Linked DNA regions of Homo sapiens: region 1 is linked to region 2. The links are contacts of gene promoters, found by promoter capture Hi-C in blood cells and fetal thymus (Javierre and others, 2016). All regions are on one chromosome and are shown on one strand. The core of a region is centred on a gene start or on the middle of the fragment in contact, and the rest is flanking DNA. Distances in the headings are between cores, read along the strand shown.

Region 1 (7,241 bases), core at 3,652-6,151, 97 kb before region 2:
ATAGACACTAGGCCCTACGTGATGGTGGATGGTGGGAGGAGGTGAAGATAGAAAATCTACCTATTGGGCTGGGCGCGGTGGCTCACTCCTGTAATCCCAGCACTTTGGGCGACCGAGGCAGGGAAATCATGAGGACAGGAGTTCAAGACCAGCCTGGCCAACATGGTGAAACCCCATCTCTACTAAGAGTACAAAAAATTAGTTGGGCATGGTGGCAGGCATCTGTAATCCCAGCTACTTGGGAGGCTGAGGCAGGAGAATCGCTTGAACCCAGGAGGTGAGGATTGCAGTGAGCTGAGATTGTGCCACTGCACTCCAGCTGGGGTGACAGTGTGAGATTCTGTCTCAAAAAAAAAAAAAAATGGAAATCTACCCTTCAAGTACTATGCTTATTACCTGGGTAATAAAATAATCTGTATACCAAACCCCTATGACATGGAGTTTACCCATGTAACAAACCTGGACATGTTAAAATAAAAGTTGGAAAGAAAAAAAAATCTTTCAATGGCTCCTTGTTGTCTTCGGGCCACAGTACACATTTCTTTGTGTGGCACATTGGAGCCAGGTATATTTGGCCTATGCTTCTTTTCCCCACACAGCACTCCATCCATTCCTGACCGCTGACATTTCCACTACCATGTGATATTTAAGTACCTTACGATTTTTAAGTGCCTTCCCATATACATCATTGCTGCTGCAAAATCTCACAATGTCACAGTATCTGGCTCTAGCAATGAGTTTGCACATTGTTGGAAAACAATAATTGCTTGCAGAATCCTTTCTATCCATTTTGGGTATCTTGTGCCTTGAGTTTTGCATTAGAGATTATATAAACAGAAACTCATATTTTGGATGATAGGAATGGTTGATTTCCAAGAACAGTGATTTTCCAAGAGTTTCCCTGATTGTGTATTCCCTTTCCTGGCTGATGTGTTACCAGGAAATGCATGATACATTACCACATTACGTATAAATGGGTAGATTTGTTTATGCCAGTCATGAAACATGTTTGGGAAGTTCAGCCTTAGAGCATAGGTTCTCTGGCATTTATTGAATTAGTTTTGGGCAGCCTTGGAAGGTTACCCCAAAGACACATACTGTCTTTCTCCATAGCAGATGAACCCAAGGAGATAGAACAGACTTGACTGAGACATGCGGCAGGTACTAAAAAGTCTTGAGAAAGCAAACCTCGGTTTCAATGTTAAGGATCAAATTGAATTTATACACGCAGACAATATGAATTTCAAGAGGCGATTCTCAGAAGAGCCACTTTTCACACGAGGACTCTGTGGCCTGCTCCAGAGGAGCAGCAGCAGAATCTACTTATATAATCCTGGTTAAGGATTCTCCCTACTAAAGCTTTGTAGGTCAGCCAGGAAAGGGAATACACACAATCAGGGAAACTCTTAAGTTACTGTTCTTGGAAATCAACCATTCCTATCATCCAAAATATGAGTTTCTGTTTATATGATCTCTAGCGCAAAACCCAAGGCGCATCTCCTAAGCTAAAAAGAATATAGAAAGATGGTAAAAGATGGAAAGTAAGAGTCATTATTGCCACAACCATGACCCTGGGATCCCCAATTCACTACACTATCTCCATATTCTCCTCCTGTGAATTAGCCAATTTATTTTTACATGAGAGGATGCTGGGTGTGTCAAACAGGTCACTTATTGAAAACACACATTGGAAGAAAAGGTATTGAAAGAAATACGTGAAAAGTGCCACAGAGTATTAATTAAGGCTCTTTCCAACTGGAAGTGGTTTGGAAAACACTGTGACTATGGGGTCGTGGGGAACACCTGACCCTCAGCAGGTGCTAGTTTTATTCCCAGCGCCAGTGCAAATCCAACCAGGGATCCCTACACTCACGCGTGGGCCAACAGAGTGTGATCTGGCAGTCAACTTCCTCAATTTGGGGCCTGGCAGCCCCGGGAGCCCGGTGGGCGCTTCCTCGGTGGCGCCCCTCACCCTGCCTCGCGGGGTTCTAACGTCCAAGAGCGGGGCTGTCCGAGAGACCCGCGCGGACACCTGAGGCGCGGTGGGGCTCCCATGGCTCCGCGGAGCCTGCAGGCTCCCAAGACGAGGGTGGGGTGGCGGCTGACAACAATGCTGCCCTTTGCTGGCTGTGTGGGCATCATCCTCTGTCCCTGGGCCTGGCACACCCAGGAGGAAGAGGCTGTGCTTGATCTGTCGGCGGACTGATCACGTGGTGGCCCCACTGCTAACCCCAGACACACCCCCGCTTAGAAGCAGCATCGTTGTCAGAAGCTCGTTGCCACTTAGAATCCTCTGCAAGATGTGGTGGGTACAGCACTGCACTTAACTCCTTTGGTCCTTAGTTTATTATTTTGTAGAGTGGAGATGATACCCGCTCAGGTACCTCATACGCTTATACTGCAGAACTTTGAAAACCAAAGATGTTTTACAAACACATTCCACTGCGATTACAAACATATTCCACTGCAATAACCGGGTGCATATATGTCCGTCATGCTGAACCTGACAGTTTGAGTTGTATATTCAGTGTTTAACAACTATCCTCAACACATAGTAGGAATAAATGAATGATTGCAAGGTTTTGTCTAATTTATTAAAGTGTTAGCATCAGCTGGCTAATGAGTAATAGATGACAGTCATGTTTGTTGAACTCTTTTATGTTTGCCGTTTTTATGATTAATGAATTTAGCAAATTTCCACTGAGTGCCAGTATGTGCTAGGCATTGTTCTCAATGCTGGGGATACTGTAGTGAACAAAACAGATGAAATTCTAATAATAAGGAAAACAATAATAAGATTCATAAGGAAAATTTATAGCATGTTAAGAATAATGAGAGCTAAGGAGAATAATAAAGTATGAAAGGGAGGTGGCGTCAATGGAAATGTAAATGAGGGGAGTCAGGAAAGTCCTCATTACAAAAAAAACTTGCACACAAATGTTCATAGGAGCATTCTTATATATTCCTAATAGCCAAAAATGAAAACAACCCAAATCCCTATCAACTCATGAATGAACAAACAATATTTGGTATATCCATATAATGTATTATTTGATAATGAAACACAACAAAGTTATAGTTTATGCTACAGCATGAATAAGCCTTGGAATCATTACGGTAAGTGAAAGAAGCAAGTCACAAAAGACGTTCATATAAAATAGCCCTGGTAGGCAAATCCACAGAGACAGAAAGTAGACCAGTGATTTGCTAATACTGAGGTAAGTGGGTGGAGAATAAGAATTACTCCTAATGGGTTTGGGTCCAAAATTAGGTGGTGTTACTTACACAACTCTGTGAATATACTAAAAGCCACTAAACTATATACTTTAAATAGGTAAATTTCAGGCTGGGCACAGTCGCTCACGCCTGTAATCCCAGCACTTTGGGAGGCGGAGGCGGGCAGATCACGAGGTCAGGAGATCAAGACCATCCTGGCTCTACTAAAAATACAAAAAATTAGTCAGGCATGGTGGCGGGTGCCTGTAGTCCCAGCTACTTGGGAGGCTGAGGCAGGAGAATGGTGTGAACCCAGGAGGCATAGCTTTCACTGAGCTGAGATTGCGCCACTGCACTCCAGCCTGGGCAACAGAGCGAGACCCCATCTCAAAAACAAACAAAGAAACAAAAAAACCCACAAATAAATAGGTAAATTTTATAATATGTGAATTATATCTCAATGAAACTGTTACAAAAATGAAAGGCAAGATGTGTGCTTTATCTCTTTACTTATGAAATTTTGAAATAATGAACACCCTCCAAGGGTGACTATGATTCTTTTTCTTTTTTTTTTTATGGGGGAAGGAGAGATTGGCCTTTTAAATTTTTATGTATTTGCTTTGTTGACCAGTGCATGGTCCATATAGTGTCACTGACTTCCTCTCCCTAGAATATAAGCTCCCTGAAGGCAGGATCTTGTCTCTTCTGTTTAAATCTGTTGCCAGAAGCAAGAATTATGCCTGGTGCAAAGTAGATTGTCAAAAAGTAGTTTATGATGAATGTATGAATAAATGGAGGAGCTACCCTATATTTACATTTGCGGCTCATTCTCTCCGGTATCTCAATTGTGATATCCTGCTCTGTGATCAAAAACAAATATCTTTCAGATCTGCCATGTCATGACTCCCTATCTAGAGCTGTTCTTTGTGTTAAACTAGCTCAGGCTCTGAAGCTGGGACCTTGTTCAAGGATGCATGTAAATGGGGTCAAAGATTGGGGCTGCAGTTGCACCTGGTCTCCACTTGCAGGGCAGACTCCCTTGGTGCTGGGTTGATTAGCTAGGAGGAAGGGGCCTCAATTTCTAATTGTACTGTTCAGAGGGGACTTACCTTCTATTTCATTTTCCCAGAGGAGCTGTTATTAAGCAATCTGTCCTTTTGAACGGGGTACTTTTGTCTAGTTTGCACAAAGGCATCTTAGGTGTTAGCAGCCCCTTTTCAGATTATTGGCCCCCAATCTCTACATTTCTTTCAAAATTTCTGGCATCATATCCTTCCTCATTCAGCCTGGATCCCACAGATCCACTAATTATCATCTTATTAAAACCCACAAATGCAAGTTTGCCACCTTGTAATGCCACCTTTTCTGTGTAGGATATTTTAGGGAAACTCTCACAATGGCATGGATAGACACCCAACAAAGATGTCATCTGAAAGTCCAGTATCTTCATCTGTGCTTCTAATTAAATCGTTGAGTATAATTTGGCCAATTTTGCCTCTGATTCCTGGCAACTCTTAATCCAAACAAGTACTTTATTCATTACCACCCCTCACTCCTAAATGACTGCCTTGTCAATTTTTTCAAAGGAAAGACAAAGTCTCTCATGTTCTTTCTTATCCTTCTCATATGGAGGAATGGATAAAGAACATTTACATTAAAGCTAATTTTTCACTATTTTCTTACTTGATCAGAATTAGGTGTCTTTCCTCTATTCTAAAGTGTAATCTGTCCCTGTGCTACTAATCTCATGTCCTTCAAAGGGCTTATAAACCTTAATCCATCAATTATCTCTTTCTCCCCAGTATATTCAAATATTACTCCCTGCTTTGTATTTCTTCTCAACCCATACATTTATGCAAGTCTCTCTCACAGTTGTGGTTTTTAGTTCATGAAGGTAGACCAAGCAGATGCTACTTATTCTTCATATGAACTCCAATTCCAAGGAGCACACTTACAAAAAAAATTCCATTGCCACATTGAAAAATAAGAAGCAACTCTCTTGGTGAACCAGAATCTGTGAATTCCTAAGAGAACAAAAGTATACAGACTAGACTGAAGAAAAACACACAATAATAAAGGACCTGCAACAGAAGACTGTTCTAAATGGTGGAAATTTTTGCACTTCATAAACAAATGGCATATATGTAAATAACACAGATACTCTAATCTTGAATTTGTATCCCCCCAAATTACTTAAGGGGCAAGATGGGGGGAACCCAGTTGCCCATTTCTGGGACAGCGAATGTATAAATGTGCGGGGTGCATGGCACAGACTTTAGGCAGCATTTAAAATCAACTGATAGAGGTACTGATAGCCACACGGATAGATCTTTAAAACTTACTGTTAGGAGGAGCAAAGTTTGTGCATGTAATTTATGGGTGTGTATGAACTTCATGGATTCCAGATACATTCCTACAATAGAATGCCATACATTTTTGGGGAGATACTGACAAATAAAATATGCATGTTTTATAAAGTGGAACAATTGCTCATGGAGGGAGGGAAGGGGGAGTGGGGTATGGAGATCAAAGAAAATTTAAAAAATAGGAAGCATCCTTATAGACACAACAAAACATTTCTAAGATAATTTGCTTAAAATTTGAGTGTGATAAGCCACAGTGTAAAATTATAGGCAAAAATATGTAACGTTTTGGGAGCTGGACTTTCTAGACAAACTAAATCCAGTAGCTATTAATTCATGTAGTCTCAATAACATAAAGATATGGCTAATTGTAATATACCTTCTTCACTGTAGGTAAGCTATGCATGTTTTAATAATATCCAGTGAGAAAGAAATAATTAGTAGTATTTAGAGCTAATAAGCAAAGAAGCCTTCACAAGCAATGGGATTATTTATCATTTATGCGAAGTCTCCTTCTCACAATGAAATAATTTTCTCGAGTTAGCATTTATTACATCATTATCAATTTTAGGTATAGATTCTACTCTAGTAACATGTGCCCATTCATAGAACTTCTCTTGTATGGAAGAATCCCTTAACTCAGGCTGACCATATTCAAACTGAGATAAATTCATGCACAGTTCCTCATGTAGACAAAAATAACCATATTCATCAATTTTAATTTTTATTAATGAAATAGGGGGAAGAGAATACTGAGATGGATTTAATGAAATTACATTTTCCAAGAAGCCTCTTGAACAGAATGAAGTTCTTCATTTGCCACTAAACTTTCCTCCTTGACTGAGCTCACTGATGGTTTCTTTAATATGCAGAGAAAGGATCTCCTTCTGCCATGAACCTGAGGTAAGTTAGATATCAGTAAATTGATCATTAGCACACTCTAAAATAAAGAACTATAGAATTTGGGTTAGAATTTTGGAAATAATTCTAATAGAAGTATTCTCCTCATTGAGATTTTTATTTTATTTATTTTTTTAGAGATGAGGTCTCTGTCACCCAGCCTGGAATGCAGTGGCACTATCATTGCTCACTGTAACTCTGAATTCCTGGGCACAAGCCCTCCTTCCACCTTCCCCTCCTAAGTAGCTAAGGACTGCAGGGATGTGCCACCACTCCTGGGTAATTTTTTCAACTTTATGCATTTTATTTTATTTTATTTTACTTTACTTTACTATTTTATTTTATTTTATTTTATTTTATTTTATTTTATTTTATTTTATTTTATTTTATATTTTTGTAGAGATGGGGTCTCATTGTGTTCCCCAGGCTGGTCTCAAAATCCTGAGCTCAAGCAATTCCCCTGCTTTAGCCTCTCAAAGTGCTGGAATTATGGGTGTGAACCACCCCACCAGGCGAGATTTTTAAATTAAACCATGTGCTTTTGATACTTTTTAGTTTTTTTCTTTGTCCTCTCTCCCTTTCTCCCTGGTTTCCATCCTCCCTTCTTTTTTGTTTCTATAGATTGAAAGCCAAAGACAATGCTATATGAAAAGACAGTCCCCAAGACAATGATTGATCATAAAGGGCATATTGTTTTCTACTCAAACTTGATTACATTATTAAGTATAGCATTGAATAGCTGTCAGTTTAAATTCTATTTAG
Region 2 (6,503 bases), core at 186-2,685:
AAAACCATGAGATAGCTAATTAGCCAATGCTTGTTAAGAACTGCCAGTGTGTGGAGAAGGACAAGATAGGTTTTCTTATTTAAAAATGATTCTTAATCTAGAATCAATATGAGTTCCAGGAGGTCAGACCCGCCTACCCCCTGCCCCCAGGGAAAAAAAATGCGAAGGATTGTGACATGTACATAATTCTGGAAAGAAGATTCAGAGTTTTCATTCTATGCCAAAATGGTCTGTGACCCCAAAGAGGTTAAGAACCTCTGCTGAACAGTCGTATAGGCGACTTAGATAATTGATCTATGCAACATTCAAATTCAGAAGAAAAGTTCACGAGTGGAAATGTTTTCTCCCCTTTGGATGTGAAAAAGCATGATACTCATAATTCCTTGGTGTTCATTAAGAAAGCTAAACTGTAACTTCACATGTTTATAACTTAATAGAAGAGACAAATTTATAATCATCCTACTGCATAAATGTAAGTGCAGTACTCTCTTTTTTCCTTTTAAACCTTACTTGGATTTCTCTATTATCCTGTGTGTGTTGGTTTAGTCTGTATCCCCATATCTCAGCACATGAAGGAACATGAGATCAGTCAAAATTTGTAGAAGACAATCAACATTTGAAAAAAAAAAAACTTTTACCCTTTTGATTTAACCAAGTCTGTCCCCCTTTAGATCCAATATATCCGTTAAAAAAATGAAATAGTTCATGATCTTAAATTTAGTTAGTCAAAGTGAAATCTTACCCCTAAAACGAGAGAATCTGCTGTAGAGATTTGTTAAAGAACACATGCCATACTGCCAGCATTTCCTCTAGATGATTTTCTCTTTAACCTTTGGTGATGTCTTTATTAGCAAACTTCTACAAAACAGTACAAAGCACATATACATTATTTTCTTAGAAGAAAATACGTAAGTTTGATCCTTTCCTTATTGTTCAGTCACCACCTCTCCAAATTCAGAAGCAATAGCCTTCTTTCTTCTTTCTAGGCCTTAATATTAGAGGCATCAACTTTCATCCATCTGTTCTGAATAACAGCCTTCATAACTGAAAAGTCTCTCTCTATGACTAAAACATATCGGCATTTTACAGCTATCATCTCTGAGTAGTAAATAGTGCCTACTGTTTACAGAGTATGATAGGGAGAGGAACACCGTAATCAGCCTCCGTGTCCCTTTATGGCTTCTGACACGAAAGCACTCCAGCAAAGCGACATCACTACCCTGCATTTTACTTGTTCAAGGTTCCAAGGAGTTTCGGGGGGCGCTCGTCCAGGACCCAGTCCGAGTTCTCACGCCAGCGCCCAGGCCTAGATGAAGAGGAAGATCCCGGCTGGCAACGCGCTCAGCGCCAGGTCCCCAGATCTCGCTGAGCTACCATCACAGGGATAGCCAGGAGCCCAGCACCCGGCCGGCTCTCAGGCTCCTCAGGGAGTGACGGTCTGCAATGGCAACGGTGTGCTCCTCTTGCGCCTGCGCACCCACTCAGGAACTGCCGGGGCGGAGGTAGTGCGTGTGCGCAGACTCACTAGGCTCCTGGCAGCCATGTGGTCAGACACCCGGTTAACTACGTTTTGGTGCCTCTAGGAACGGTTTCTGCAAACCTCTATTCTGAGATTGCCCATATTGGTGCATTTCTTATACACCCACCTGCTGCACAGTGACCAGGATCACTGAGGAGAAGTCCGCCCTTCACCTTTTCTGTCTTCAAAGAAAAATTTTGACCACAAGAGCACCTTTGGAAGGTGCACTTTCGAGTGAAGTGGCTAAATCAATGGCTCACTTTTTTTTTCTTTAAACATAAGTAACTGAAGAAGGAAATTAGTGATGAAAGTAATACTTAACAAGACACCAGAATGACTTTTTGATCCACTTGCTGAGGCGGGTTTACCTTTTAGGTGACACGTGGTGTTAGTTTTCTGTTTGAGGTGTAGACAGTAGTTAAAACAGTGTTTATGAAGAGGTGCTTTAGATGAGCAGTACAGACCATCCTCTTAGGCAGCTATCATGACTTACTGAGGCGTTTAAAGTACCTGGAGAACAGCCACTCAATGGCATTTCTCATTTATTCATGGAAAATTTAAATTGACATTGTGGAATAGTTAAAATTCCAGCTTGTAGTGTAAATTTTTAGTCAATGATAGCCAGTGAGTAAAACACGCAGAAAACAAGACAGATTTTTCTTTCATAAGGAAATTTTCTATGCTTTCAACACCTTTATTTGCAAAAAGCTAAATCATGAGTGTGTCTAAAAGCCATCAAGATCTTTTATAGCCTGAAAAATCAACTGTAAATTGAGAATCTTAATTTTTAGTCTCACAGCTAGCTTCCTTACATTGAGACTCCAAAGTCCCCTCAAATCAAAGGAAAAAAAAACAAAAAAAAAAAGCCCAGCCTCTTCTAAAGTCTTTACATTCTGTATTGGTCAGTATGTCATTGAAGGTAATAGTTTTATTCTTAAGTAATATACCACTTCAGTTTCTAGCATTATTATTATTTTGTGAGTTCCTTGTCTATGAGCAGACAGGGCTCCGATAATATTAAGCATTCTCTTTGCTGTAGAAAGAGGAACTGTGTCTTCAACCTCAGGGTTATGGATTTTTTAGAATCCATAGTAGTAAGAGCCAGTTCTGATGAGATGGACCGCTATTGTAACTTGCTGCCAAGACTGATTGATTATTTGTGAGAGAAGTGACATATTTCTTCATTTAAGCTTTGGCCAACAGTCTCTGGAAATTATCATGGATTTGGTCATTTTTTTGGACTGGGGCCAAAATGTGTTTTCAGTATAAACATAGGCAAAAATAGAAGAGTGAGCCAAACTATGAGACAGGCATGGTTCCTTGGTACATCTTATTTCTTCTGCTAATATCACAGATCAGTAAAAGCAACATTGATTTTCTCAGTACCTATAAACTGGATTTGGAAATTCAGAATTCACTTTAATTTTTTATCCTTTGGTTGTTAAAAACTGTATTCTTCAGCAATGAAGAGGCAATCAATCAGTCATGGTTTGACATCCAATATGACTTTTATTTCTCCATGTGGATCATATTGTTAATTTCTCTTGAATTAGTTCCCAGTATACAAAAGACATTAGTGAAAATGTGCTGGAACCACAATGCCTATATAATGTTGTTAAAACCATTGTTGGGGATTATTACAAGGACCCTGTTGGCTGTGAGCCCTGATAAAATAACTTGTCCAGATTTCTTTGAGGAATTTTATTTATTTATACACTAGAGAAAACAGATGTTTCCTCTGTGTAAACACTAGGGTGTTCTAGTAAAGTAAAATGGAAATCTATGCAAACTGGGGAAACTAAACAATTGAATTCATTGTAGAAATGCAATGTCCATACATATGTATATTTATGTAAGGTATAATCTATATGTATGTAGGTATATATATATATGCTGGTACACACACATATATATAGTAGATTTCAGTTTTCATATGTTTACTATATCACTTATATACTATTCTTTAGTAAAATGCTAATTAATAGCTTAAACTTATCTTGCTTTTTTTCCCTTTCATTTACTATGTTGAGGCAATATGTTAAGTACCTTATATTGCTTATTTAAACTTCACCACATGCCAATGATGTACATACCATTGTTATTTTCATTTTAACAGATGAGTATGCTAAGGTTTGGCGAAGTTAAGAGTCACACAGCTTATAAATGTTAAGAGTTGAGATTCTAACTCCAGCAGTGTAAGTCTAGCTCCAGAATTTGTAGCCCATCCTCCTACCCACTTTTCTTCCTCTAAGTCTCCTTCAGAAAGAGCTCTATGTTGTGACTGTCATGGAATTGCATAAAGAATATTGTTGAAGCAATCACAAGATCTAGGGATGGTTTCCAGCTCCAGTTCTGGCTGTGTGTACTCCACTCCTCTACTCTTTGAATTCATTTCTCATCTGTAAAATTAGGGTCTTGAAGTACACATTGTAGCATTGTATAAATATATGAAATGACATTTGGCCTAAAAGTCCATACCATATCCTTAAGCGTTGCCAAATACTTGGGAGAGTAGGAAGAGTTGTGAAATATAAAGTGAAATTGTGAGTGAGACCTAAATGAAATAGAGACCCCTGTGGTGTGTGTGTGGAGAAAGAGTTTGAATGAAGCCCGTTGAGCACTGCTAGGCTGCTAGAATTTAGTAACAGCAATTTGTTTATAAGAGTGAAACCAGAGAACTGAGGGAGAGGAGGAGAGCTAGGAGAAAAGAGAGAACAGTTATAAATTATAAATTTGCTTGGTTTGTTTTAAATGCAAAATGAAGAGAAAAAGGCAGAAAGCAGCAAGTTTTAGGAAAACACTGATATCCAAGGCCTCTCCAGCCTGTGGGAATTAGCAAGACATGTTAGCCTTATGGCCCAGGTGGCCTGGTTTCCACCCCCATCTGTTGAAGAATGACCCCACTTATCTGCAAATCCCAATTTCCAGAGCATTTCTGGGAGTCCCCAGAATTTTCACATTTGTTCTCCAGCAGGCATTGGCTGAGCTGTTGCTGAGTATATGGGGCAGCCACTTTCCAGATACACTGTAGTCTTCTCAGGCCTTGCTGCAGCTTCTCTGGGAGAAGGCTGCCTTACCCCAGATGCTGTCTCCCAGGGCTCCCCAAGCATCAGAGCCCTGGAGGTGTTCAAACAGCCTTGCATCATCTTCAGTCTTCCTTACAGAGAAGGAGCCTGGTTATAGTCCATGCACAAGTGAGGAGCACAGCCCTTTCTCCATAGGGATTAGACCTGGTCACCTAGGTGAGGCTGGCTACTGGATTCTGATCTTTCAGCTTGAGTATCAGATACCTGAACTCAAAATTTCTGTGGCATATTTTCCTTGATGCAAATCACCCCTGCAAATAGATGCCTAGGGACTCTGCACCCCACCCCCAGTTGTCCAAACTCAGGGTAGGTTTGGCCAGCATCTGCTCTGTGGGAAAAGGGGACAATTGTGATTGATTATTAGAGGGTTGTGACAAATGCAAAGATGTTCTGGGATAGAGAGCTTTCAGAAATTTTGTTTTGGCCAGGCATGAATCAATGACACATGTTTATCTAAGATATATTTATAGATTCTTGAAAGATTATTCTTGAGCCCATGTGTTTCATGATGAATGATCGACCGACCTTCTGTAAAGCCTTAGAATCTAGAATTAGAAGACACCCTAGAGGCCTAGAGATCTAATAATGATCTGTGCTCTTCTGAGGACGGAAGAGACTAAATATAGGAAGTACTTGAGATGTGTGTGTAATGTGTATGTGTGTGTGTAGCTTAAGTTATATTTCGTAGGCAAAGTCTCTGTATGCAAATCCAGCGTTAATTGTGCATGAAAAAAGCATGTGTTCGCTGACATCTAGATAAATCCTACTCCATTTCATTTTATATTACCCTACATGAAAAAATATGTAAAGCCTAAATTTGATGGAATAGCAGAGTTTTCATCACAAAGTAGTAGTGTAATACTTCTTTTTAAGCAAATGAATGAAAAAAATGAACATTTAAAAAAGATTTTCCAGAATGAAAATACCATAAGGGCTTTAAATAATACCACAGCAGGCATGTGACCTCTATGTTGCAATATCATATTTCTTTTTTTTTCTTTCTTCTGTACATCTGCTCATTTATTTTATTTTTTTATTTTTATTTTTTTAGTATTTATTGATCATTCTTGGGTGTTTCTGGCAGAGGGGGATTTGGCAGGGTCATAGGACAATAGTGGAGGGAAGGTCAGCAGATAAACATGTGAACAAAGGTCTCTGGTTTTCCTAGGCAGAGGGCCCTGCCGCCTTCCGCAGTGTTTGTGTCCCTGGGTATTTGAGATTAGGGAGTGGTGATGACTCTTAAGGAGCATGCTGCCTTCAAGCATCTGTTTAACAAAGCACATCTTGCACCGCCCTTAATCCATTGAACCCTGAGTGGACACAGCACATGTTTCAGAGAGCACCGGGTTGGGGGTAAGGTCATAGATTAACAGCATCCCAAGGCAGAAGAATTTTTCTTAGTACAGAACACAATGGAGTCTCCTATGTCTACTTCTTTCTACACAGACACAGTAACAATCTGATCTCTCTTTCTTTTCCCCACATTTCCCCCTTTTCTATTTGACAAAACCGCCATCGTCATCATGGCCCGTTCTCAATGAGCTGTTGGTACACCTCCCAGACGGGGTGGCGGCTGGGCAGAGGGGCTCCTCACTTCCCAGACGGGGCGGCCAGGCAGAGGCGCCCCCCAACCTCCCAGATGGGGCGGCGGCCGGACGGGGGCTGGCCCCCACCTCCCAGACAGGGCGGCTGACCGGGCGGGGGTTGCCCCCCACCTCCGGACGGGGCGGCTGGCCGGGCAGGGGCTGCCCCCCACCTCCCAGATGGGGCAGCTGCCGGGCAGAGATGCTCCTCACTTCCCAGACGGGGCAGCTGCCAGGCGGAGGGGCTCCTCACTTCCCAGATGGGGTGGCTGCTGGGCCGAGGGGCTCCTCACTTCTCAGACGGGGCGGCCGGTC

The links. The method cuts DNA at HindIII sites, captures the fragments that hold promoters and counts their contacts. A CHiCAGO score of 5 or more calls a contact.
Region 1: a contact is called between a fragment that was not itself captured here and the fragment with the promoter of MS4A13 in region 2, in 2 of 17 cell types (naive B cells and total B cells). The highest score is 6.5, in naive B cells.

Annotation. Positions count from the first base shown.
Region 1 is chr11:60,610,485-60,617,725 of GRCh38, reverse strand. It overlaps LOC105369321 (a long non-coding RNA gene), which reads left to right. Exons shown (of 6, transcript XR_001748240.2): 5 at 6,319-6,482. It overlaps LINC00301 (long intergenic non-protein coding RNA 301), which reads right to left and starts at 1,975. Exons shown (of 7, transcript NR_026946.1): 1 at 1,874-1,975. The HindIII fragment of the contact is 7,080 bases long and covers 1,362-7,241 here.
Region 2 is chr11:60,510,324-60,516,826 of GRCh38, reverse strand. It overlaps MS4A13 (membrane spanning 4-domains A13), which reads right to left and starts at 1,435. Exons shown (of 7, transcript NM_001012417.3): 1 at 1,220-1,435; 2 at 743-858. The HindIII fragment of the contact is 9,060 bases long and covers 1-2,711 here.